Linked DNA regions of Homo sapiens: region 1 is linked to region 2. The links are contacts of gene promoters, found by promoter capture Hi-C in blood cells and fetal thymus (Javierre and others, 2016). All regions are on one chromosome and are shown on one strand. The core of a region is centred on a gene start or on the middle of the fragment in contact, and the rest is flanking DNA. Distances in the headings are between cores, read along the strand shown.

What was found. Contacts are between HindIII fragments. The CHiCAGO score rates a contact against its expected background, and 5 or more counts as called.
Region 1: a contact is called between a fragment that was not itself captured here and the fragment with the promoter of GAN in region 2, in 1 of 17 cell types (activated CD4 T cells). The highest score is 6.1, in activated CD4 T cells.

Annotation. Positions count from the first base shown.
Region 1 is chr16:77,724,609-77,730,334 of GRCh38, forward strand. It overlaps NUDT7 (nudix hydrolase 7), which reads left to right. Exons shown (of 4, transcript NM_001105663.3): 2 at 823-976. Among named protein-coding and RNA genes, the nearest start is that of NUDT7, 5.0 kb to the left of the region's middle. The HindIII fragment of the contact is 1,893 bases long and covers 766-2,658 here.
Region 2 is chr16:81,313,403-81,319,119 of GRCh38, forward strand. It overlaps GAN (gigaxonin), which reads left to right and starts at 1,560. Exons shown (of 11, transcript NM_022041.4): 1 at 1,560-1,878. The coding sequence starts at 1,712. RefSeq lists an enhancer at 1,397-1,596 and silencers at 1,607-1,946, 2,087-2,146, 2,167-2,436. The HindIII fragment of the contact is 5,241 bases long and covers 1-2,652 here.

The DNA.
Region 1 (5,726 bases), core at 462-2,961, 3.6 Mb before region 2:
AGAGCTCACTTTAATTACATCTGAAAAGATCCTATTTCTGAATAAAGTCACACTCTGAAGTTTGGGGTAGACATGAATTTCAGGGGTGAGGGGATACTGTTCAACCCACTATACAAACTAGCAGTAGAACACACCTGTCAAAAGGACCAAAACAAGTCCACATAGGAAGGGCACCATTTGCGGTTTTAAATCCAAATGCTTGCATATTATTGGGAAATTGTTCTCAGAATGTGTTCCCCTGTCCACAGCGTCAGTAACGCTGTCATGAGGGAGTTTGATACAAATGCTAATTCTCAGGCCCTACACCAGAGTTACTGAGTCACAGTCTGGGACTGAACCTCGCAGTCTATGTGACAGCCAGCGCTCCAGGTGATTCTGTTGCTGCTAAAGCTTGGGAACCACTATTATAAGCAGTTGAAGACATAAGAGTTTGAGAACATAAGGGCCAGCTTAACAGAAGGTAGTCTTCTAACCTTCTAACCTTAACAATGACTTTTTCATCAAACCTGTCTTCTCTGAATATAATTATGGGTTTCAAAATTCAACTGTTGCATTATTGAAAAAACATTTTACCATACTTTATGTTTCAAAGAGAACCTGTGTACTAAACTGTGTGCTTAGAAGGTTTTTTTGTCATTTTCATCTTGCGAACAACCACGCAATTTAGATAGTATCATTTCTGTCGTGTTATTGAAAAATACACAGAGAGTCAGAAATGGCAAACTCCTAAATACACAACAAAGCAGAAACAGAGGCAGGACTATAAGCTTTTTACCATAACTCTGCTTGCTAAAATGTCTGTCTGGTTTGTTTTTATTTTAGAAACAGTTTGCTAGATGATGCTAAGGCCCGCTTAAGAAAGTATGATATTGGAGGCAAATATTCTCACTTGCCATATAACAAATACTCCGTCCTTTTGCCATTGGTGGCTAAAGAAGGAAAACTCCATTTGTTGTTCACCGTCCGGTCAGAGAAGGTAGGTGGACAAAAAATTTCCTGCCCTTAAACCTCAGGACATCAGAAGACCTCACGAGATTTTGTCACTTGCACACACTTTGATGCCAAAATTCTCAAAAGGGCTTTCAAAATTGTGATGTCAGAGGCATACAACCACAAGCCACAGGATAACATGGTGTTTCTTGGAGAAGGTTTAACAAGAAAATGAAGGAATTTAGCTAGCAAGCAGTTTAAAACGCTTTCACACTAGGGTTACCTAACCTTGGTGCTATTGGCATTTGGGGCTGAATAATTCTTTGGTGTGGAGGCTGTCCTGTATAATGTGGTGTGTTTACCATCATCCTTGGCCTCTACCCACCAGATGCCAGTAGCACACACAAACACAAGCTCACACACACCTTTGTCCCTTTGTCCAGTATGCCAGTAGCACACACACCACAAATGTCTTCAGAATTGCCTACTATCCTGGCAGGATTGGGGGTGCCAAATTGCCCCCCACCAAGGGCCACTGTTTTAGACTATCCCACCCCCAGTATAATGTGAAAATACTAGAGCATAGAAGTTAACGGCCTAGGCTCTAAAGCTAGCTGTCCACGTTGAATCCAGGCTCTCTCCTTGCCAGCTGTGACTTTGGCCTCGTTACTTGCCCTCTCTGTACTTCAGTCTTTTCACTTGTAAAATGAGGACAAAATATTAGTAACTGCTTCATACAGCTGCTATGAACATTTCACAGGGTAACAAATGTAAAGCACCTATATAACCCAGGTACTTGGCAAGGAAGAATTCAGTAAGTTTTAGCTGTCATCGTTAGTGTCAAGTGACCTGTCAGACATGACCTGAAGTTTTAAGATAAATGATGTCACTTTACAGAAATAATGGGCTGGGAATGGAGTTTCTGGCTCACCCCTTGTATTGGTCCATTCTTGCATTGCTATAACGAAATACCTGAGGCTGGGTATGGTGGCTCAAGCATGTAATCCCAGCACTTTGAGAGGCCAAGGTGGGAGGATCACGAGGTCAGCAGTTCGAGACAAGCCTGACCAACATAGTGAAACCCCATCTCTACTAAAAATACAAAAGAATTAGCCAGGCATGGTGGCACACACCTGTAATCCCAGCTACTCAGGAGGCTGAGGCAGGAGAAACACTTGAAACCAGGAGGCGGAGGTTGCAGTGAGCCGAGATTGTGCCACTGCGCTCCAGCCTGAGGAACAGCGAGACTCCATCTCAAAAAAAGAAAGAAAGAAAGAAAAAGAAATATCTGAGTCTGGGTAATTTATAAAGAAAAGAGGTTTCATTGAGTCATGGTTCTGCAGGCTGTACAGGAAGCATGACACAGGCATCTGCTCAGTTTCTGGAAAGGCCTCAGGGAGTGTACCATCATGGCAGAGGGGGAGCAGGAGCAAGAGAGAGAGCAGGGAAATACCACACACTTTTAAATGGCCCCGGATCTCATGAGAACTCACTCACTATCATGGGGACAGTGCCAAGATGATGGTGCTAAACCATGCGTGAGAAATCTGCCCCTGTGATCCAGTCACCTCCAACCAGACCCCACCTCCAACACTGGGGACTCCAGTTCAACATGAGATTTGGGCAAGGACAAATATCGAAACTCTACCACCCCCACACCCGTGAGCACAGTCAGTTTCCCTTGCTGTGGGGAACTTCCAAGGAAAAGCTGGTGAAGCAGTCATTTTAAGCTTATCCAAGTACAAAAAGAAAATAAGCCATATTAACAGGCTTTTTAAGCAGAATAATGAAAAGTATTTTGTTTAAAAAAAAAATGCCAAGGAATCAGCTGGAGTTTTGTGGACGTGGAAGTAGACTTGTGTGGATTGTGTTCGGTCTGAGCCAGGCAGAAATGCCGTGAACTCAGGACATGATAGAAATCCAGGTTCCAGGGGGAAATACTTAAATGGAAACCAGGGGACCAGTGTCTGTTCCCACCTCTGCCAATAAGCACAGGAGAAGCACTTACATATATTTTTTAAAATTATCAGATATGGCCGTGTGCGGTGGCTCACGCCTGTAATCCCAGCACTTTGGGAGGCTGAGGTGGGCGGATCACCTGAGGTCAGGAGTTCGAGACCAGTCTGGCCAACATGGCGAAACCCTGTCTCTACTAAAAATACAAAAAATTAGCCAGGCGTGGTGGTGGGTGCCTGTAATCCCAGCTACTGGGGAGGCTGAGGCAGGGAGAATCACTTGAACCTGGGAGGTGGAGGTTGCATTGAGCCGAGATCGTGCCACTGCACTCCAGCCTGGGCAACAGAGCAAGACTCCATCTCAATAATGAATAAATAAATAAAAATAAATAAATAAATAAAAGAGAATTGTCTAACAAACAATAATATAGGAAATCTAGACAATACTACAAACTCAACCAACGGGGTCTCTAGTTTCTTTTGTTTCACCCAGAGCCACTTTTGCCTGTTGATTATTAAGGTCACTTTTTAAAAACTATTTAAATTTAATTCAATCTGATTGTAAACACTATCTGGCTGTAGGGGTGAGAAATTCCCTCTGGAGCTCTACTGGAGCTCTGCCCCTCACACAAGCAGGGCGCTGGTAGGAGATTTCCCCCCAGTGGATGGGGAAAGCAAGGCAAGAAGTGGGTTAACCCTTCTCAAATGTGCAATCTCCCACTAGCTCTGGAACCTCGAACAAGTTTTTCTTTTTTTTCAGAAGGATTCTCGCTCTGTCGCCCAGGCTGGAGTGCAGTGGCGTGATCTCAGCTCACTGCAACCTCCGCCTCTTGGGTTCAAGCAATTCTCCCACCTCAGCCTCCCAATTAGCTGGGATTACAGGTGCACGCCACCACGCCTGGCTAATTTTTGTATTTTTAGTAGAGAGGGAGTTTCACCATGTTGGTTGGCCAGGCTGATCTTGACCTCCTGATCTCAGGTGATCTGCCCATCTTGGCCTCCCAAAGTGCTGAGATGACAAGCGTGTGCCACCACGCCCAGCCTGCAAAGTTCGTAAATCTCTTAATCACCTCGGTTTTCTCATCCCTAAAATGGGCCTGAAAACAGCGCCTCATGTGCAAGGTTGTTCTGAGCCTGAAAGAGATCTGTAAAACGCCCAGCACGGCTGCTGGCATGCCATAGTGCTGCATGCTGTTGGATGCTACCTATGTTTTCGTTATCTCCTTGTCCGGGTCCACCTTGGATAAGGGACTCCTCTCAGAACCCTAGATCCCTGGTGCCCAGCAAAGAGCTGGCAAACCCCTTTCTCCATTGCACACCTGGGCACAGCCCTTCAGGCCTTCAAAGCCACCCACTTTATAGTTTTCAGGAATTAGCTGCTCTGCATTATCGGTCCTGCTCTTCTCCCCCACACCCTTGACCTCGCATCCCTCCTCTGTCCCCTCTTCTACCCTCCTCCACCCTCCTCCCTGCACCCCATTCTCTGGGACTGGAAGTAGGCAAGAGAAAATTCAGGAACAAAGCAAAGATTGAAGTCTTAGGAAATTAGGCTGCAGCTTTACTTGGCCTCTGAGTAGCATTTCAGAAGGTTTTATTGAATAAGAAATGTATACTATTTATCAAAAAAATAACTGACCGCTTTTGTGCTTAGAGCCCTTTGCAGTGCTAATAGTTTTTGATTAGTCAGTTTTAGAAATGTGCCTGTTTTCTTCAAAACAGCGTAATATTTTCTTTTTTAAAAACAAAATTAAATAGATTTATCTTTTTAGATTTAAATAGATTTAACTTGTAGAGATTTATCCTGTACAATATGATGCTTTGAAGTATATATTCACTGTGGAATGACTAAATCTAGCTAATTAATTTACTACCTCACATCATAGTAACATACTACTTCACATAGTAACATATCACCACACACAATACCTCACATAGTAACATATTACTATACATATTACCTCACATAGTAACATATCACCATATACATCATATAGTAACATGTCATCATACATATTTTCTTCAAAATAGCATATTTTCTTTAAAAAAAAATTTAGGCCAGGCATGGCTCACACCTGTAATCCCAGCATTTTGAGAGGCCAAGGTGTGGGGATCACCTGAGGTCAGGAGTTTGAGACCAGCCTGGCCAACATGGTGAAACCCCATCTCTACTAAAAATGCAAAATTAGCTGGGTGTGGTGGTGCACACCTGTAGTTCCAGCTACTCGCGAGGCTGAGGCAGGAGAATCGCTTGAACCTAGAAGGCAGAGGTTGCAGTGAACCGAGATTATCCCACTGCACTCCAGCCTGGGCAACAGAGCGAGACTCTATCTCAATAAATAAATAAATAAATAAATTTTAAATCAACAGATAAAATTGTATAGATTTATCCTGTACAACATGATGTTTTGAAGTATATATTCACTATGGAATGACTAAATCTAGCTAATCAATGTACTAACTCACATAGTAACATATTACCACACACATTACCTCACATAGTAACATATTAACACATATACTACCTCATATGGTAACATATCACCACACACATTACCTCACATAGTAACATATTAACACACATACCTCATATGGTAACATGTCACCACACATAACATACTATCTCACATAGTCATCATCTTTGCACTAAGAACACTTTATATCCATTCAGCAATTTTCAAGAATACAGTATGTTAACTATAGTTACCATAGTATACAATACATCTCTCGAATTTATTCCTCCTGACTGGCTGAAACTTTTTATCTTTTGACCAACATCTCCCCAACCTCCCCCCAAACCACCTCAGCAGCTAGTAACCACCATTCTACTCTCTACTTCTCTGA
Region 2 (5,717 bases), core at 310-2,809:
CCACATCCCCATTAAACATCCACAACAATATAGAGACAGTACAACGAATCTCCACATCCCCATTACGTGGCTTTAACAATTAGTAACTTGCGGCCACTTTTGACTCATCTACACTCCCATCTGCTTCCCCATCCCTTTGTTTTGTTTTGAAGCAAATCCTAGACATCTTTATCATTGCATCCGGGAACACTGAGCTGCATTTACAGAAGAAAGTGGAAATGCATGTGTCTTCCACAGCCGTACCCTCCCCATCTATTCTGCCCTGAAAACAGTTAGATACTCGGATTCCTGCCAGTGACTCCAAAGCCTTGGCTGGTTCAGGGTAAATACCCAAGACTTTATTGGAGCCTTTCAGTTGGTTGAAGGACAGTGAAAATTCCATCCTGTCTTGCCTGGAATGCTAGCCACATTCTTCTGGTCCGGAGTCCTCATACAATTGCTAATTTTTTAGAGGCTTATGGAGTCCCTAACGTTTGCACAAAATGGTTGCTACATTCCACACTCCCATGTGCCCTGAGCAACCTCCAGGGAAACTTCAGATACCGTGGGGCTTGGCCTGCCAGCTGAGCTGACCCAGCGATCCTTTCTATCACAGCTTTGATCTTCACTGGGTTGGGAGCCTGTCTGAATCTAAACATCTGCCTCTCTACTGCCCACCCCTTCAGCATTTCCTAGCTCTCCCTGAAAGGTGCAAACATGCATGCAGTTACTCAAACAGAATATTTATCCTTAACTCCCTCTCCCTCACAATTTCTTTTAAAACAATCCACTATTGTCTACCCCCGCCCCCGCATCACCCTTTCATCCAGGTGCCCATTCCCTTCTCTCTAGTCCTGCAATACCTAAGCATCGATCTGCCTTTAGCACATCCATCCCCGCCTTATTCTCCACGCAGGAGCTGAGTGACCTGCACAAAATCCCCTGCTAAATACGGTACTTCCATGGTTCTTCACCACTGCAGAAACCAAACTCCTTCCCACACCAAGGAGGCCCTGCAAAATTTAAGGCCTCCTTCGGACTTCTCCAGCTTCATCTGCTACATCTCCTTCCTAGCCCGCAACCAAAACCATCTTTTCCGGGTCTGTTTTCTCGGGTTTTTGTCCTCTCACCTGGGCAGCTCCTTTTCTCTCATAAATAAAGAAAGCTACAGCGACTTCGCCCTTGCTTCCATGCATCATCTCATGAGTCCACAACAACACTAAGAATTCGCTTTCATTTTGCAGACGGAGAAACTGAGGATGGGCACCTTACCCATGGCCACAGAGCTAGTAAGTGGAACAGCTGCAACCAGGATTCAAACTCGCGGCTCCAGAGGCCACAGGCTTAACCACGGAATCCTAGCCCGCCCGCACATCCCTCCATCGCGGGAGCGACCTATCTCATCCGTAGACACCTTCCGCTGCACCCAGCCGCAGCTGGTCAGGCGGGCGGAGGAAGGAGGCTTCTGATTGGCCATCTCCAGCAGCGGAGGCGAGAAGGCGGGGAGCGACGGTGCGGGGGCGTCGCGGAGAAATGACTTCATGACGCGGCTTCTTAAAGGCGCCGGCCCAGCGCGCCGCGGATAGCACAGGCACGTCCCGGGGGCTCCAGCTTCTGCTCAGAGCGCGGAGAGCCGGGCCGGGCGGGCGCGCGCGCAGGACTCGGGCCGCTCGAGGGGTCCGGCCGGACGGTGTCGGGAGCCGGACCCGTCGGCAGAGGAGCGGGCGCCGCGATGGCTGAGGGCAGTGCCGTGTCTGACCCTCAGCACGCCGCGCGTCTGCTGCGAGCGCTCAGCTCTTTCCGCGAGGAGTCTCGCTTCTGCGACGCGCACCTGGTCCTCGACGGGGAGGAGATCCCGGTGCAGAAGAACATCCTGGCGGCGGCCAGCCCGTACATCAGGTGGGGAGGGGGCTACGGCGGGCGGGCGCGGCGGTGCTGCCCGGAGCCGGAGGCGGGGCGGCCGGGCCGGGCGTGGCCCCCAGACCCTGTCCCCTGTCCCCGGCGCCGGGGTCCCCGCGTCACCGTTGGCGCGGCGTCCCTCCCGGCAAGCGCCGGAACCCGGCCCCGCTGACCGCGTCCCCCAGGCGGCCTCTGTGGCTTCCAGGCCCGCGCTCCCCACTGGACCCCCGCGCCCCTTGGAGTTGTCCCCGGACCCGGGCCGCGATCCCCCGCCTTGTCCCTCCCGGTTCCCACCGCCGCGGCGAGCGCCCGACCTCGGAGACCCTGAGGCCCCCAGACGCCGTCCTGGGCCGGCCGGGACCCGCACCTGCGGGCTGGGCGAGGCCGCGCCGGGGAAGAGTCACCCCCTCGCCCAGGCCGGGCCCGCGGTCCCCGCTGAAGTTCGCCAGTCGCTCGCCTCTGAATCCACGCGCGGGGGCTGGGCCGGCGCCGCCAACCAGGCGGGGAGCGCCCTGCCCGCTGGGAGGCCAGACAGACAGCGCCTCGCTGGGTGCAGGCAGAGAAAACCCTCTCGATGTTCTCCTTGGGTTGGTAGTCCGAACCTCCGGGCGAAATTCTCCTTGCCAAACGTGTCTTTTCCGCTCCATTCTGGTAACTGTTTAAAAGAGGAGTTACACGTTGAAGTAAACTGTAGCGAATTCTCAGGATGCTGTTACAACCCGAGGACCGTGAGAGCCTTGCGACAAAGGGCATTTTAATACTTTAGTAAAGCAAAGCTTAACCTGATTTGCCAACTCAACTAACCAGGTTAATTAAAAGGTTGATAAGACAGTGCTTATACAAGTGTATCAGATCTTGCAGGAGACTATCTTTTCTTTTAGCAACCTTCTTGCAAACTAGGTTGCTGTTTTAATAAAAGGAAAGGGGGGAATGCTAAAAACTGGAGAAACTGACCAGTAAGCTGGTTAAATATAAGCTAGTGGTAGAGAATATCACTACAATTGACAGGTCAGAAAAAGCAAAATGATGTGTATTCTTAGCGCTTTGTCCCAGCAAAACCACCACGCACGCTACACTTTTAACCTTTGCATTGGGGAGATATCTGTGCTAAACTTAGAAGAAATTCAAGTGCCCTTGTAACTTCTGGTTTCTCTTGGATTTGTTTTGTGAATCCATTTGCGCTCTTTGGCGGTGGGGAGTGTGGAGGGGTGGGGGGGCGGGGCGGCAGTAGGGTCTGGGGTAGCATCGTTAGTACAGAATTTGGATTGCTAATGTGACAGACAGCTTCTAGCTGGCAGTTCCGAGGTTTGAGCAACCCATCCCAAATTGGAGTCAGCAGACCAAAGTCTTCCCTGTTTGGGAAAATGCTGAAGAAAACTACTTTAGATGCATTATTGTTATAGTTCTTTAAATGGCATCCGTTTGGCTTAAAAGAAGTAAATTGCAAATTGCCGAATCCTTGCTTGTTATCCTTGTTCGTTTTTCTCCATAGCACTTACCACTTTGACGTACCCCATATTTTACACATTTACTTTGGTGGTCTTTCCCAACCACAGTGTGACCTCAATGAGGTCGTGGTGTTTTGTTTTGTTTTTCGAGACTGAGTTTCACTCTTTAGCCCAGGCTAGAGTGCAGTGGCGTGATCTCGGCCCACTGCAACCTCCGCCTTCCAGTTTCAAGCGATTCTCCTGCCTCAGCCTCCCGAGTAGCTGGGATTACAAACGCCCGCCACCACGCCCGGATAATTTTTGTATTTTTAGTAGAGTCGGGGTTTTACCATGTTGGCCAGGCTGGTCTCGAACTCCTCACCTCGTGATCCGCCCACCTCGGCCTCCCAAAGTGCTGGGATTACAGGCGTGAGCCGTGGCACCCGGCGGTGTTTTCTTTTATTCACTGCTTTACTCTTTGCACCCAGAAAGAACTGTGCCTATCAGTTAATGTATTGAATGAATGACTGCCTTTCTTTCTACCACAGCAAATGTGTACATTAGAAAATTGGCACCATCACATTTTCATAGTACACAGACGCTCAGTTATACCTAATTGAGAAACGCACTGGATTCAGAGTTTGAAGACCCGCTTTGTGCTTCCAGCTTTTACTCATATTAGCTGTGAGTTGCTGGTAGATGACAAGGCTTCAGCTCACTAATCTGATGAATGAGGGATAAAAATGAGTCTTCTCATTTAATCACACCTGTGAAGAAATACGTAATAGTGTTGACACCTCATAGGTCTGTTCCCATGTCTTCAAAGGTAGTACCCATTGAATTAGGAAATATCTGTAGTCCGGTTCTTTCACTTTCTAAATAAGAAAATAGGGGCTCAGTGGACATTAGTGACTTGTGTTATGAGGTTATTAGTACTTAATGGTTGAACTAGGATTAGACTCCAAATTAATTACGGCTAACCGCCTTCCTACTCTTGCCCTACCACGTTAGAGCATTACTTGTATTTCACCGTTCTCTTTGTGTAAACTTTACTGTTAGCTGGCTTACAATATCTTAGAATTAAAATGTTTATCAAGCACTTTTACATACTGTGTCATTTTGGTTTCCATTTTCAATCATCTTTAAAGAGAAGGCAGATTTTTTTTTTTTATGTTTTGTGGATAAACATGAATCAGTCAATATGTGTTTCATCAGTGACAGATGAATTGCTTTAAGTTTATTTGGCTATTGAAGTGATAGAATGTCTTGGGATGTTTTTAAAAATTATCAATTCCGAAGCTGTTTCAAAGTAATTTGACGAATCTGTATCACTAACTAGAAAGAAATTTGTTAATTTTGTATTTTTACTGGTAATTTTAATACCAATAATATTGGGCTTTTATAATGTACTTGTTTGTTTGAATAGCACTTTAGAGAATTATATTGAAACAAAATATATTTATGTATTCTAGAACTTGATGTTTCTTATCTTTCCCTTTTGAAACTTAAGCATTTAGATCTGTGATATCATTAATCTGTGAATTGAATGTTCAAAAGTTTGGTAATCTCTGAAGTTTTATAAAATTCTGATTTTGTTTAATGTCTGTGTTTGGCCTAGTGTTGGTAACTGTCATAAGTGGTTGTGTGATTGTGTGGTTTAGAAGCAGTGGTATGGCCTGGCATGGTAGCTCACACCTGTAATCCTAGCACTGTGAGAGGTGGAGGCGGGAGGATCGTTTGAGGTCAGGAGTTCGAGACTAGCCTGGGCAACATAGTGAGACCCAGTCTGTACAATAATAAATCATGTATATAAAAAATAGGAGCAGTATTGTCTTTTGCTTACTATGTGCCCAACAAAGGAAGCCAGTCCAACTCTGTCACACTGGGAATTAAAGTAACTTGTTTGGCATACTTTCTACTTAATATAGAAAAGTCTTTTGACTTATTGGTTTAATCTTTTATTCTGCTTTATCTTTGGTCTAGCCCTTGTTTTTCCTGCTGACACCCTTAGCAATCCTACCATATTAGAAAGATTTTAAATATAAAAGGAAAAGGCCAGAAAACTCAGCTTTGGCAACACACCCTCATGGTCAGCTCAGAGAGGACTGGCATCCCCGGGTTATGTAGAGAGAGCACGTGTCATGCAGCCCTAGGGTGCAGCTGCTCCAGGAAGGAGGCAGGACCTCCTGCGGTCCCTCAGCTCAGTAAATGGCATGCATGCCCCTTTCCCAGCATGCTCCTTTCCCAAAGCTTTTCCTCCTTTTGGTTCCTGGGTGAGATTTTCTCTTTGGTTTGTTGGGGAAACTAAACCTAAAAGTAGTTGACAGGCTGGGCGCAGTGGCTCATGGCTGTAATTACAGCACTTCGGGAGGCTGAGGCGGGAGGATCCCTTGACCCCGGGAGTTCCAGGAT